Regions from separate parts of the Homo sapiens genome. Here region 2 is linked to region 1. Evidence: promoter capture Hi-C in human tissues and cell types (Jung and others, 2019). All regions are on one chromosome and are shown on one strand. The core of a region is centred on a gene start or on the middle of the fragment in contact, and the rest is flanking DNA. Distances in the headings are between cores, read along the strand shown. Region 1 holds the start of CCR7 (C-C motif chemokine receptor 7). Region 2 holds the start of TNS4 (tensin 4).

Region 1 (6,560 bases), core at 2,750-5,249:
GAAGTTGGGAATCTCTGGGGCTAAGGAGTGGTTGACCTAGATGTTGGGTGTTTTCTGAGTTCTTGAGTTTTCAGTAATGATCATCATGAAAATTCCCTAGAACTCCAACCGGAGCCCCCAACATGAGAGACTGCCCATCCAGGAAAGAAAATTATTGGCTGGCTGCCCCCATCTCCAAACCATGAACTTCCATCCCCACATTTTTCCAGGTCCTCCAGACTGCCCAGGAAATCACAGTTGCCCAATCAGCTCGCCCCAAGAGCGACCCCAAGCTTTTTCCTCTTTGAACTTCCTCACCTGCCAACACAACTTTTCTCTCTCTCTCTTTTTTTTTGGATAAGGGAGGCAGAGGAGAAGCAGGGAGGTGGTGAGAGGTCTAGAGATCTGGGGAATCCACTTTCAGACAGTAGGCAGGGATGGGTGAGAGCCTGGTAGACCTTGCATTTTCTATGTTATCAACTGCTGTATCCAATGAGATAATTCATATTCACTGAGCTCTCACTGCGTGCCACACTGTCTGCATGTATGGTCTCATTTCATCCTCTCAAAAGCCCCATGAGGTAGGCGCTACTATTATCCCCATTTACCAATGAGAAACTGAAACACAGCAAGTAACTTTCTCAGAGTCACACAATGGCCAGCAGGGGAGCAGGCTTTGAAACCCTCCAACTCCAGCAACCACACTCCTAACCATCCTTCTGTGCGGCCACTGGGTCTGTATGTGTCTCTCCCTCATAACATCTCATGAGCTACCCTGGTGATCCTCATCTTAGATTCCAGAAAATAGAGGCCCAGAGAGATTAAGCCAAATGCCTGGGGCCACACAGCTGCTAAGAGAGGGACCTGAGATTTGAACAGGATAGCAAGGTTTGGGCTCTGGCTACTGCATCAGGCTGTGTTTCTGATGAGCCTGCTGCATCTAGGACGCTCCACGGAGCATGAGGGGAATCTTTGCTCCCCATGCCCCACTGGCCACCAGTGCTTCCTGCTTCCATCCCCCAACATCCCGGCCCCCAAAAGAGCCGGCCCCACCTCTGTTCTGACACGGGCTTTGCTGCCTCTTTGCTGCCACAGAACTCCTTCCAAAACACAAATCTCATCCTTTAATTCACCTACTTGAAAAATAAAAATCTTTGATGGGTCCCCATTGTTTTCAGGATAAAGTTCAAATTCCTTAGGGATGCCGTACCACGTTTTAAGGATTGGGTCTCCTGTGCCTGCGTCCTTCCTCCTCATCTTCCTCCTTGGCATGGCCAGCTACTCCACCCTCCCCTCCGCTTGCTTCTTTCTTGTCTCTGTTACTGTTGTCTCAGCTGACCATCTACACGGCTGCAGCCTTAGTCCCCAGGACACTCTGCTTGTCAGCATGGAGTTTTTGAAATAATAGATTTGAATGCCTTTAGGTGGGGCATGCACCCTCTGGGTCACTCTACTCCCCTCCACTTCCTGCACCTTATGCCCATTCCCTCTATTACCTTGTCGGCCTCTGATGGCAATGGAGTTTGCCATTCCTGCCACATCCTGGGCCCATTGCAGCTCCTTGTTGGGCTTGACAACTCCTACACACCCTTGAAAACCCACCTTAAATACCTCTCTGACCCAGGTTCACTATTCCCTTCTTGTCTTGCCCTTGCCCTGGTCAATGCTGTATCTTATTCTGTTGCAGTGGCTTTGTGACATATGTGTCACTCTCCCCACCAGACTGGTCATCCCTGAATCCCTCAAACAATGAGAGTTGCCTGAATGTCCGAAGCAAAGAGGAGAGATTTTTTCCAACAGCGACCCCAGGCTGCAGCGTTCCTCTCCTCCCCAGCCAAGTTTCTGGCAGGCAAGAAACTGGCCCTGAATTAGCTTCAGCATCCCCCTTTGCCACCATTTATGTCCGAGCTGTGAGGCACACATCTCTCATGGGTTCATTTTTTCCTTGCTTTGCTTTTGAGAATTATGAAAGATCTTCGGTCTCATTGCTCGAAGGTGGGGAGGGTGCCTCAGAGCTGCTCATTCAAACCGTGAAAAAGGCCAGCTCAGCCCTGCTTGGGAGTTTTCATTTTGTGTAACAGAAACCCTCCCTCCTCACCCACCTCTTGCTCCTTGCTGGGCAGATGAAGAGCAGAACAACAGATCCTCCAAGGCCCACCCACCCCATCAACGGCCCAGAGAGCCCGTTTTGAGTAAAGCTTGTCAGCGGCTTCCCCTCCTACCAGTATTTCGGGTTTGACCGTTGGGGCTCTCTCAAGTTGAGTGAAGTGGCAAGAATATCCCTTCTTCCTGGACCAGAGATTACCCTCTCTCCCTGCATCAAAGCCTAGGAGTCTAGCACCCCTAAACCTAGTCTGGGGTAAGACACTCTGCACATCTTCCCAACCCCCTGTTCAGTCATGTAGATGGCTTGAAATCAATCAGCCAGGGTGGGAGAATTTACACCATGGAAATTGGCAAGCACTACAAATTCAGGACTTTCCCTCCACCCTGGAGTCAGCTACCAGTGCTCCACCCCGGGGAGCTGCTTTTCAAATGCCCAGTAGCACACCACTGGGCACTGCTTGGTTTCCTTCCTGGAGGCCAGTATGAAAGGCTGGAGCAGGGTCTTCTGTGGGTGACGTCTGTACTGTGGGATTGTGATGGGGGGTGGTGGAGGGGGTGCAGGGGAGTGGGATTTAAGGGTAGATTGGCTGGGAAATGAGGCATTTGGAAGAGATTTTCAAAAACTAAACTCTACGGAGTTCTTGATACGGTGTATTCATTCATTCCGCAGACATTTTCTCCTCACATCCTCAAAGCACCTGAACCTGCCTTTCAGGAGTTCACAGTCAGTGGGTGGGGTGACCACTTTAACCCTTTCACAGCTGTTTGCTGGGTCCAGATCCAGCGTTCAGGGCAGGCGGGAAAGTAAGAGATGAAATCAAGGAGGCTGTGGTGTGGCGAGGAGGGGTGTGAGGACAGCACCAGGGAACCTTCACTTTTTAAAGCCAACCCTTTGCGGCTTTGAGGCCGCCGTGGTGCATTGTTTGCTGGTGAGACAAGCCATCTAGGAACCTGGTCTTCTTAGCCTCAGCCTGGTCTGACTCCACAGCTGAGATTTATAAAGGGGGCGTCTGGAGCTGGATGAACCACTCAGAACACCCTCAGTGCTTCCCCTTGACCCCTTCTAGGTTAGACCTGAGAAAGGGCTTTCTAAAGAGTAGAGTTATCTGCCGGGGCAGAGTGCGTGAGGTTTGCTCAGGGGCAGGGGCTGTGCTGAAGGCCTGGCTATGATTTCTCCAAGCTGAGTGCCCCTTGCCATCCCATTCCATGTTGCCTGCCCGTTCCTTAACTTGCAAGAGGCAACAGCAAAGCCAGATCAAAGCAGGTGGGATGTGCAGCAGAGAGAAAGCAACCAGAGCTTGCATTTGCAATGCACCGCACCATTCTCACAACCCAGTCACGTTTCATTTGCATCTCCTCATGACCCCAAGTGGACAGGTATATGAATATTTGGCAGGGGAGAAAGGTGGGAATCAGAGAGTGGGTAAAAGGTCCTAAGCTCTCTAGGGAGAATTTCTCTGTTGAAACCTGTCCCCAGAGGTCCCAGAGGGCCTAACCTATCACCCTCATGATGAGAACAGGTTCTGCCAGACCACCAAGCCCAGCCCCGCCACTCTCTTATGTCCCTGCTGTTTTAGAAAGACATGATCTCGGCCCCTCCCTTGTCCCCACTGGCACCAAAGGCTGACCCCTTCTCCAGGTCTGAAAGGGCAGGTGCACCCCTCCTGGGACAGCAGGGGGCATTCTCTGGAAGTAGCTTCCAATGCCCACCAAATCAGAACTGATTTCTCCAGGAAGCACCCCTATGCGCTCCACCCGCATCCTCCACCCCCATTCCACAGGGTCAGTCTGGGTGTCCAAGACCCTGGTACTGTTCCTTCTCACATGAAGAGGCTCACTCACCCAGGTCCATGACGCTCTCTGGGCGGTAAAACCACACAGGAAGGCTGTGCCCGGCCTCGCACTACCCCTGTCTGGGGAGGAAGTGGTTCAAGCCCCTTTTAAGTTGTCGGAGAAGCCACCCTCTTCCCTGCCCCTCCCACCCTTGCTCCTCCCCCCAGCCCTCCCTGACTCATGCAGGGCCCCTTCAATGCCTTCAGAGATAAAGGGGCAGAAGAAAGGTGACAGAGGGTGACAGTCGCTGGTCATAGGATCCTGAATCATTAGGTCATTTACATTCAAAAAGCCCCCTGCGCTGCCTGGCAGAATCTAGATGAGGGGCCATTTACTGATTCAACAAATATTTATAGCATGAATATCACATGCCAGGCCATGGGTTAGATGTTGGGGAGTCAGAGATGTGTGAGAGAAGTGTCCCCATCCTTCCCTTGCTCTGCTCAGTGTCACAGTGGAATATAGTCCCAAATGGCTTTCCCTCTGGCTTCTGGGTAGTTTAGGCCAATGGGAGGCACTGACACATAATGACAGGTAAAAGGGAAGAGATATGCCACGATGTATCTTTTTTCTCCCCCCTTCCCCTCCCCTCCCCTCCCTCCCCTTTCCCTCTTCTCCCCTCCCTTCCTTTTCCTTTCTTAATGACAGCTTTATTGAGCTATAATCCACATCCCATAAAATTTACCTTTTTAAAGTATAGAATTCAATGGTTTTTGTATGTTCACAGAGTTATGCAACCATCACCACAATACATTTTAGAACATTTTTTCTCACTCCCTCTCAAGAACCCTGTAATCACTAGCAATGACTGCTCCCCTCCCCTCCTGTCATCGAAAGCCCCTGGCAACCACAAATCTACTTTCTGGCTCTATAGATTTTCCTATTCTGAACATTTCACATAAATAGAAGTATCAATATGTGACCTTCACATCTGGCTTCTTTCAGTTAGTGTTTTCAAGGTTACCTATGTGGTGGTATGGATCCATTCCCCATTCCTTTTTATGGCTGAATAACATTCCATTGTATGGATATGCCACATTTTGTTTGTCTGTCATCAGTTGGATGTTTGGGCTGTTTTCCCTTTTAGCTATTATGAATGATGCTGCTATAAATATTTATGTGCAAGTGTTTGTGTGGACATATGCTTTATTTCTCTTGGGTATATACCTAGAAGTGAAATTGTTGAGTCATATGGTAATTATATATTTAACATTTTGACGAACTATCAAACTGTTTTCCAAAGTGACTACACCATTTTGTTCCCATCAACAATGCGTGAGGGTTCCACATTGTCAACAAAACTTACTATTGTCCATTCTTTTGATTCTAGCCATCCTAGTGGCTGTAAAGTGGTATCTCATTGTGTTTTTTTTCTTTTTTCTTTTTTTTTTTTGGAGATGGAGTCTTACTCTGTTGCACAGGCTGGAGTGCAGTGGCACGATCTTGGCTTACTGCAGTCTCCACCTCCTGGGTTCAAGTGATTCTCCTGCCTCAGCCTCCCAAGTAGCTGGGACTACAGGCACGTGCCACCATGCCTGGCTAATTTTTGTATTTTTAGTAGAAACGGGGTTTCACCATGTTGGCCAAGCTGGTCTCAAACTCCTAACCTAAGGTGATCTGCCAGCCTCGGCCTCCCAAAGTGCTGGGATTGCAGGCATGAGCCACCATGCCCGGCCTCTTTGTAGTTTTGATATGCGTTTTCCTAATGACTACCTATGCTGAGCATCTTTTCATGCTCTTATTGACCATTTGTATTATTTTTTGAGAAATTTCTATTCAAATCCTTTGCCCATTTAAAAAATTGGGTTATTTATTTTTTATTATTGAGTTGTAAGACTTCTTTATATATTCTGGTTACAATCCCTTATCTGATACATATCTGTAAATATTTTCTCCCTTACTATGGATCATCTTTTCACTTTCTTGATAGCGTCCTTTGAAGCACAAAGGCTTTTTGTTTTTTAAAACCTGAATCTCTGGCAAAAGAAGCGCAAAGTTTTAAATGTGGAGGTTCAATTGATTTATTTTTCTTTTGTCAATTGTGTCTTTGGTGCCATATCTAAGAAACCATTGCATAATTCAAGTATACAAAGATTTATTCGTATATGTTCTTTTAAGACTTTTATAGTTTTAGCTGCAACATTTAGATCTGATCCATTTTGAGCTAATTGTTGCATATGGTGTGAGGTAGGGATCCAGCTTCATTTTTTATATGGATATCTAGTTTTCCCAGCATCATTTGTTGAAAAGACTATTTTTTCCACCATTGAACTGTCTTAGCACCTCTGTTGGAAATCAATTCATCATAAATGTAATGGTTTATTTCTAGACTATCAATTCTATTTTATCAATCTCTGTGTCTGTCCTATGACAGTACCACACTGTCTCGATTACTGTAGCTTTATAGCAAATTTTGAAATTGGGAGTTGTGACTGCTCCAACTTTATCTGTCTTTTTAAACATTGTTTGACTAATCTGCATCTCTCTCTTTTCCATATGAATTTTAGGTTATCAATTTCTGCAATGAAACCAGCTGGGATTCTAATAGGAATTTCATTGAATCTGTAAATCAATTTAGGGAGTATTGCCATTCTAACAAAGTCTTTTGGTCCATGAACATGGGATTTTTTTCATTTATTTAG
Region 2 (6,560 bases), core at 1,259-3,758, 64 kb before region 1:
CTGGGCCTGGTAGTTAAAGATCGACCCCTGACCTAATCGGTTATGTTATCTATAGATTACAGACATTGTATAGAAATGCACTGTGAAAATCCCTTTCCTGTTTTGTTCCCACGTAATTACCGGTGCGTGCAGCCCCCAGTCACGTACCCCCTGCTTGCTCAATTGATCACGACCCTCTCACACGCACCCCCTTAGAGTTGTGAGCCCTTAAAAGGGACAGGAAATGCTCACTCGGGGAGCTCGGCTCTTGAGACAGGAGTCTTGCTGATGCCCCCGGCCGAATAAACCCCTTCCTTCTTTAACTTGGTGTCTGAGGAGTTTTGTCTGCGGCTCGTCCTGCTACAATGCCACATGGAATTCAAGTGCAGAGGGACACCTGGGATCTAGAGAGGGGGCATGATTGGCTGAAGGTCGCACAGGTTTCATGAGAAAAGCCAGGGCCCCTTCCCCTCTCCTGCCTCCCCCAACGCCCGTGGCTCCGGTAGGTCTGATGCCAGACTTTTCCTTGGCCAGGTCCTGCAGGGGGCGGGGCATCCCGGGCACGGGAAGCTTTCTATAAATGGAAGTGGAAGGGAGCCGGCCTCTGCGCTCCCGCCCTCCCGGGACAGCTGAGGACACAGAGCCGGAACCACGGCTTTTTCCACACAGGCTCCAAGTGGACTGGGTTTGTTGGGACAGGATCTGGGCGCTCCCTGCAGGGTTTTCTGGCTGTGTCCTGCAGAGGAGGCTGGGGCTGCTGACTTTGCAGAGCTCAAGGAGGGCTGGGTGTCCCCTCGCAACCAGGACCCAGTATACCTGCTTACTAATTTGGACACAGCTTTTGTGCCACGCTGGGCAAGCGTCCTTTCCTCTCTGGGCAGACCTCAGTTGTCCCATCTGTGTGATGGGGATGTGATAATAACAGACACTGAACACCTTGCATTTTCTCAACAGCTCTCTGAGGAGGGTGCTATTGCTGCAGGGCTGGAGAGGTTGAGGAATTTGCCCAAGGTCATACAACCCCAACTGTGAATTGGGGTTTAAACCCAGGTGGTCTTGCTCCACGGTCCCACACTTTTAGCCTCTGCTGCTGCTTCACATATTTAAGAACCCTGTCCACCGCTGCCCCTTCTGGGATTCTGGAACCAAGAGGGACAGACCTGGAGCTGAGCAAAGGGCAGGCAGCCCCTACGCTCCTCTTCAGCCTCCCCTCACTTTTAAGGCTCTGCGTCGCCCTTGGATGTACCAAGGCAGGGCTCCATCTTACTCCTGTATTCCTGAATGCTGCCCCCTTCGCGGCCCCGCACACTCCTCTAACTTGCTCTTTCTTGCTGTAAGTGGTGGGGAGAGTCCCTGGGCCCGGGGCTCTGTGTGGTTGGGAGGCACGGGGCGGGGGCAAGGAGGGCTCCAGCCACCTCTGCTCTATTTGTAGGTGCCCCCTACCCGCTCCCACTTCTGATTCTGACTCAGATCTCTTTCTTTGTTCCCAAGGACTCTGGGGAGTCCTGGTGCCTTGGCAAATCCCCTCTTCCGTGTCATTGCCAACCTCTTCTCCTGACTTACTCTCTCCCAATGAGCCCAGGTCAGTGAAGGGAGAGGGTGGGGCAAGGGTAAAGCCTGAGTCTCCCCCAAAGCACTTTGCCTCATTAGCCCAATCTCCACTGCACCCCCTATTTTTGAAAACTGGCTCCCGATCTTCCCATCCCTCCCACCCAGACCCGGTGACGCAGGACGTGGACCTCAGGCAGGGACCCATAGGACCAGTGAAGGCCAGCCGCCCCATCTCCCAGTCCTGTCTACCTCTGAAGTGCCCAGAGGGCTCCCAGAGCGCTGGGAGGCGAGAGGCCTGGGTTCTGTGTCCAGTCCCTTTCCATGACCTCAGGCAAGCCTCTTCTCTGTGGCCCTCAGCTCTCTCATCTATTTGCCGAGGGGCACAGGTTTAGTTCCCTTGAACTGCTGAACTCCGCGGTCTGTGATCCTGAGACCATCTCTGTCTCATCCACATCCTCCACCCCATTTCTCCCCACCTTCACTCTGAGCCCTGAGAAATGGAGAAGCTGAAGACAAAAGGTTAAATGAGGCTGGGCTCACGCCTGTAATTCCAGCACTTTGGGAGGCTAAGGTGGGAGGATCACCTGAGGTCAGGAGTTTGAGACCAGCCTGGCCAACATGGTGAAACCGCGTCTCTACTAAACATAAGAAAATTAGCCGGGCATGGTGGCAAACATCTGTAATCCCTGTTACTTGGGAGGCTGAGGCAGGAGAATCGCTTGAACCCTGGAGGCAGACGTTGGCAGTGAGCCGAGATCGCGCCACTGCACTCCAGCTTGGGTGACAGAGCAAGACTCCATCTCAAAAAAAAAAAAAAAAATGTTTAAATGAATCAGGGCCAGCAAAGGTGCTCCGTGTTCCTCTCTTCTTAAAGAATAAAGGCACCTACCTGGTGTCCACAGGTGGGCAGACTGTTGCCTTCACTACTGGCTCCTGGGACCAAGACGACTCAGAGTCCAGGTGAAGAGTCAGGAGAGGCGCCAGTTCACCTCCAGACCTGCCTTAAAAGCAGCTTGCCCGCCTTCTCTCCTCCCCTCCGGGCGGGCCCTGCACGTGGCCCTGACAGCAGTAGGCCCCACCCCTGCTGGATCCAGTGAGCTCAGGTGGGGCTGGCACAGGCAGCAGGAAGGGAAGCACTGGGTGGTGGGTTTTGGGTCTGGGTGTGTGTGAGGGGCTCCCAAGTTCCTGCTTGGGCTTCTCGTGGCACCACATGGCCAGGGAGTCCTTGCTTGGACAGGGCATAGCTAGAATCAAGGTGTGCAGTGGGCACTCCTCAGGTGCTGGCTGGGGCAGAGGCCATGGGTTGGCAGAGCTGGCAGAGAGTGAGGGCCTTGACAAAGCAGGATGCCAGTGGGCAGGAGACCCTCTGCAGTCCCCCTTTGTGCTGGGTCACACTGGGACAGGCACAGGGTAAGGGCCCACTGGAAGTAAGGCTAGGCACGAGCTTGTCTTTTCTTCTTTCTCTCCTTTTACAGTAATGACTCTAGCTTGGGATGGGGCCTCTAACTCAAGGAAAGGAGGCTGAAGTGTCTGGAGGGCTTTGAGAAGGGGCTTATAGCTGTTCCTTCACTCATGGGCTATCTCTGTCCCTCGTCTGGTCTGTGCCCCAGGGTGGAAGTTCCCTGAGGGGAGGACATTGGAGGGTGAGATCAGGAAGCCCAGAAGTCTGGTCTGGTAGCTCCTTCTCCATGGTTCCAACTCTCTCCCTGTTCTAGAGGGGCAGGGGTCCTAGAATGTTGTAAGGAGGTGTTCAGACATGGTGAGGGGAGGGTGCTGATGGCAGAGCCTGGTCTGGGAGCGGTCTGAAGTGAGGGAGCTGGCGAAGTCTCCAGCCCAGGGACTCATGGTGATCCCAGTAGGCTAATCTCAGGGGTGGGTTGCCCCATGCCCCCATTATGCCCAGTGGAAGGGCTTCTGGCCTTACAGTTTTTGATGCCCTGGGGTTTCACTGAGGCATGGTGAACTAGTGCATGGGAGGCCGGTGAGCAAAGCTATGGAAAGTTATATAAGGTGCCCCTTCCTGATGGTGACATAAAAGGTGTCCCTAGGTGTCCATGCAGCCTTGTTGGCACATGGCTTGATGAGCAATTATGTCTTTGGATGAAAAATGTGGTGCTCCTGCCCTGGAGTGGATGTCACTGCACATGGCGGCTTCCCCCATGAGGCTGTGGCTCATGATTGTGGGAGAGTGGGAGGGGCGACTCGTGAGTTTCTTGAGTGGAAGGGGCAGGTTACAGTAGGGCGAAGTGTTGGGCAGAGACTGTGGCAACTCCGGGGTAACCCTGGCCATCTCCCCTGGGGCTGGTATGGATAGCCTCTGCAGTGGTTCTTCAGGGCCAGGGGGTCCTCCAGCCTTACAGACCCATACCTGGGGGTTATGGTCTTTCTTGGCAGATTGGCTCTTTTGTTTCACACCCAGCTGCTTCCTTTAGCTTAAGATGGTCTCAGAACAGTGATTTCAGCCCCAGCTGCCTCACAAACCCTGCCCAACACCACATCACTGCCCTTTGCCGTGATCATCAAGGGATGGATGGAGTGGCATTTCTTTATACATCTATAGATATGACATTTTTTCTTTAGCCTATGGATGTGATAGATTACATTAATTTACTTTTGAATTTTGAACCCTCCTTGCATACCTGGGATGAACCCCCTGGTCATGGTATATAATTCTTTTTTTTTTTGTGATGGGGTCTTGCTATGTTGCCCAGGCTGGTCTCAACCTCCCGGACTCAAGTGATCTTCCCACTTCAGACTTTGGAGTAGCTGGGATTACAGACATGTACCACTATGCCTGGGTCTGTATAATTCTTCTAATACATTGTTGGGTTCAATTTGCTAACATTTTGTGGAGGATTTTTGCATCTATGTTCATGAGTGATATTGGTGTCTAGTTTTCTTTTGTATCTCTGGTTTCAGCAATGCTGGCCTCATAAAATGAGTTGGGAAGTGTTCCTTCTGCTTCTATCTTCTGAAAGAGGTTGTAGAGAAGTGGTCCTATTTCTTCCTCAAATGTTTGGTAGATTTCACCAGTAAAACTGTCTGGTCCTGGTGCTTTCTGTTTTGGAAGGTTATTAATTATTAATTCAATTCTTTGCTAGATATAAGCCTATTCACAGCATTTCTTTTCAACCTCAAAATACACTATTTCCCTAGTTGACGGGGGCACCTTGTCCTACATCTACTCTTCTGAAAGAAGGGATTCCAAGTAGATTAAAAAAAAAAAGTCCAGCCTATATTTTGATGTATTCTGCATGTCTCTCACTAAGGGAGAGGGAAAATCAATTAAAGAAACCAAGAAATGGCCGGGTGCAGTGGCTCACGCCTGTAATCCCAGCACTTTGGGAGGCCGAGGTGGGTGGATCACGAGGTCAGGAGATCGAGATCATCCTGGCTAACACAGTGAAACCCCGTCTCTATTAAAATACAAAAAATGAGCCGGGCGTGGTGGCGGGTGCCTGCAGTCCCAGCTACTCGGGAGGCTGAGGCAGGAGAATGGCGTGAACCCAGGAGGCAGAGCTTGCAGTGAGCCGAGATCGCACCGCTGCACTCCAGCCTGGGTGACAGAGCAAGACTCCATCTCAAAAAAAAAAGAAACTAAGAAATGTAATTTCTGACTGAGTTTTTTTCTTGTAGAGAACCCACATTACTCATTCATTCAAAATACATTTATTTGGCTGGGTGTGGTGGCTCACGCCTGTAATCCCAGCACTTTGGGAGGGCACACTGCCGAGGTGGGCAGATCGCCTGAGATCAGGAGTTTGAGACCAGCCTGGCCAACATGGTGAAATCCCGTCTCTACTAAAACCACAAAAACTAGCCAGGCATGGTGGTGGGCACCTGTAATCCCAGCTACTCGGGAGGCTGAGGCAGGAGAATCTCCTGAACCTGGGAGGTGGAGGTTGCAGTGAGCTGAGATTACGCCACTGTACTCCAGCCTGGGTGTCAGAGTGAGACTCCATCTAGAACAAACAAACAAACAAATAAACAAAAAACAACAATTTATTGAGTGCCCCTGCATTCAGATGTTAGGATATAGAGATGAATGGGACAAGGCTCCTGCCCGCAAGGAGCACACTGTTCATGGGGGAGTATGACTCATAGACAGAAAGGCCCCCAAATCTCAGCCTGGTGCAACCAAGAGGCCTACAAAAGGCTGGAGCTGAGCCATCTTCTGTCAGCGTTAGTCGTGTGTGGATACGGAGCGCCTGAAATGTGGCTAGTCTAAACAAAGATGTGCTGTGGGTGCAAAATACAATTCAGATTTTAAAGACTCAGTATGAAAAATTATATGAAATATCTCAATAGTAATTGAATAATTTTTTTTTTTTCTAGAAATGCAGTAACATTATGTTGCCCAGGCTGGTCTCAAACTCCTGGCTTCAAGCTATACTCCCACCTCGGCCTCCCAAAGGGCTGGGATTACAGGCGTGAGCCACCATGCTTGCTCAGTAATTTTTTATATTGATTGTGTGTGGAAATGATGCTGTTTTATAGATACTGGGTTAAATAAAAACATTATTAAAATTAATTTCCTCTGCTTCTTTTTACTTTTTAAGATGTGTTTTATTAGTTTCTCGAGACTATCGTAACAAATTACCACAAACCTGATGCTTTAAAACAACAAACATTTATTCTGTCACAGTCTGGAGCCTGAAATTGGACAGAGCCATGCTCCTTTCAGGGATTGAAAGGGAGAATCCATTCCTTGCCTCTTCAAATTTCTGGTGGCTGTCCTGGAATTCCTGGGCTTGTGGCCACATCACTCCAGTCTCAGTCTGTGTCTTCACATCTCCTTCTCCTCTTCTGTCTGTCTAATCTCCCTTTGCCTCCCTTTTATTTTCTTTATTTTGAGAGAGGGTCTTGCTTTGTTTCTCAGGCTGAAGTGCAGTGGTACCATCATGGCTCACTGCAGCCTTGAACTCCCAGGCTCAAGCAATCCTCTTGCTTCAGCCTCCTGAGTAGGTGGGACTATAGGCACATGCCACCACACCCAGCTAAGCTTTTAATTTTTTTGTAGAGATGGAAGT

What was found. Contacts are between HindIII fragments. The study calls those that stand out against the background at their distance.
Region 2: a contact is called between the fragment with the promoter of TNS4 here and the fragment with the promoter of CCR7 in region 1, in 1 of the 25 tissues and cell types used here (heart right ventricle).

The regions. Positions count from the first base shown.
Region 1 is chr17:40,561,473-40,568,032 of GRCh38, forward strand. CCR7 (C-C motif chemokine receptor 7) reads right to left here and starts at 4,000. Exons shown (of 3, transcript NM_001838.4): 1 at 3,928-4,000. The coding sequence starts at 3,937. RefSeq lists an enhancer at 2,639-3,555. The HindIII fragment of the contact is 11,021 bases long and covers 1,225-6,560 here.
Region 2 is chr17:40,499,115-40,505,674 of GRCh38, forward strand. It overlaps TNS4 (tensin 4), which reads right to left and starts at 2,509. Exons shown (of 13, transcript NM_032865.6): 1 at 2,420-2,509. RefSeq lists an enhancer at 51-922. The HindIII fragment of the contact is 10,438 bases long and covers 1-6,560 here.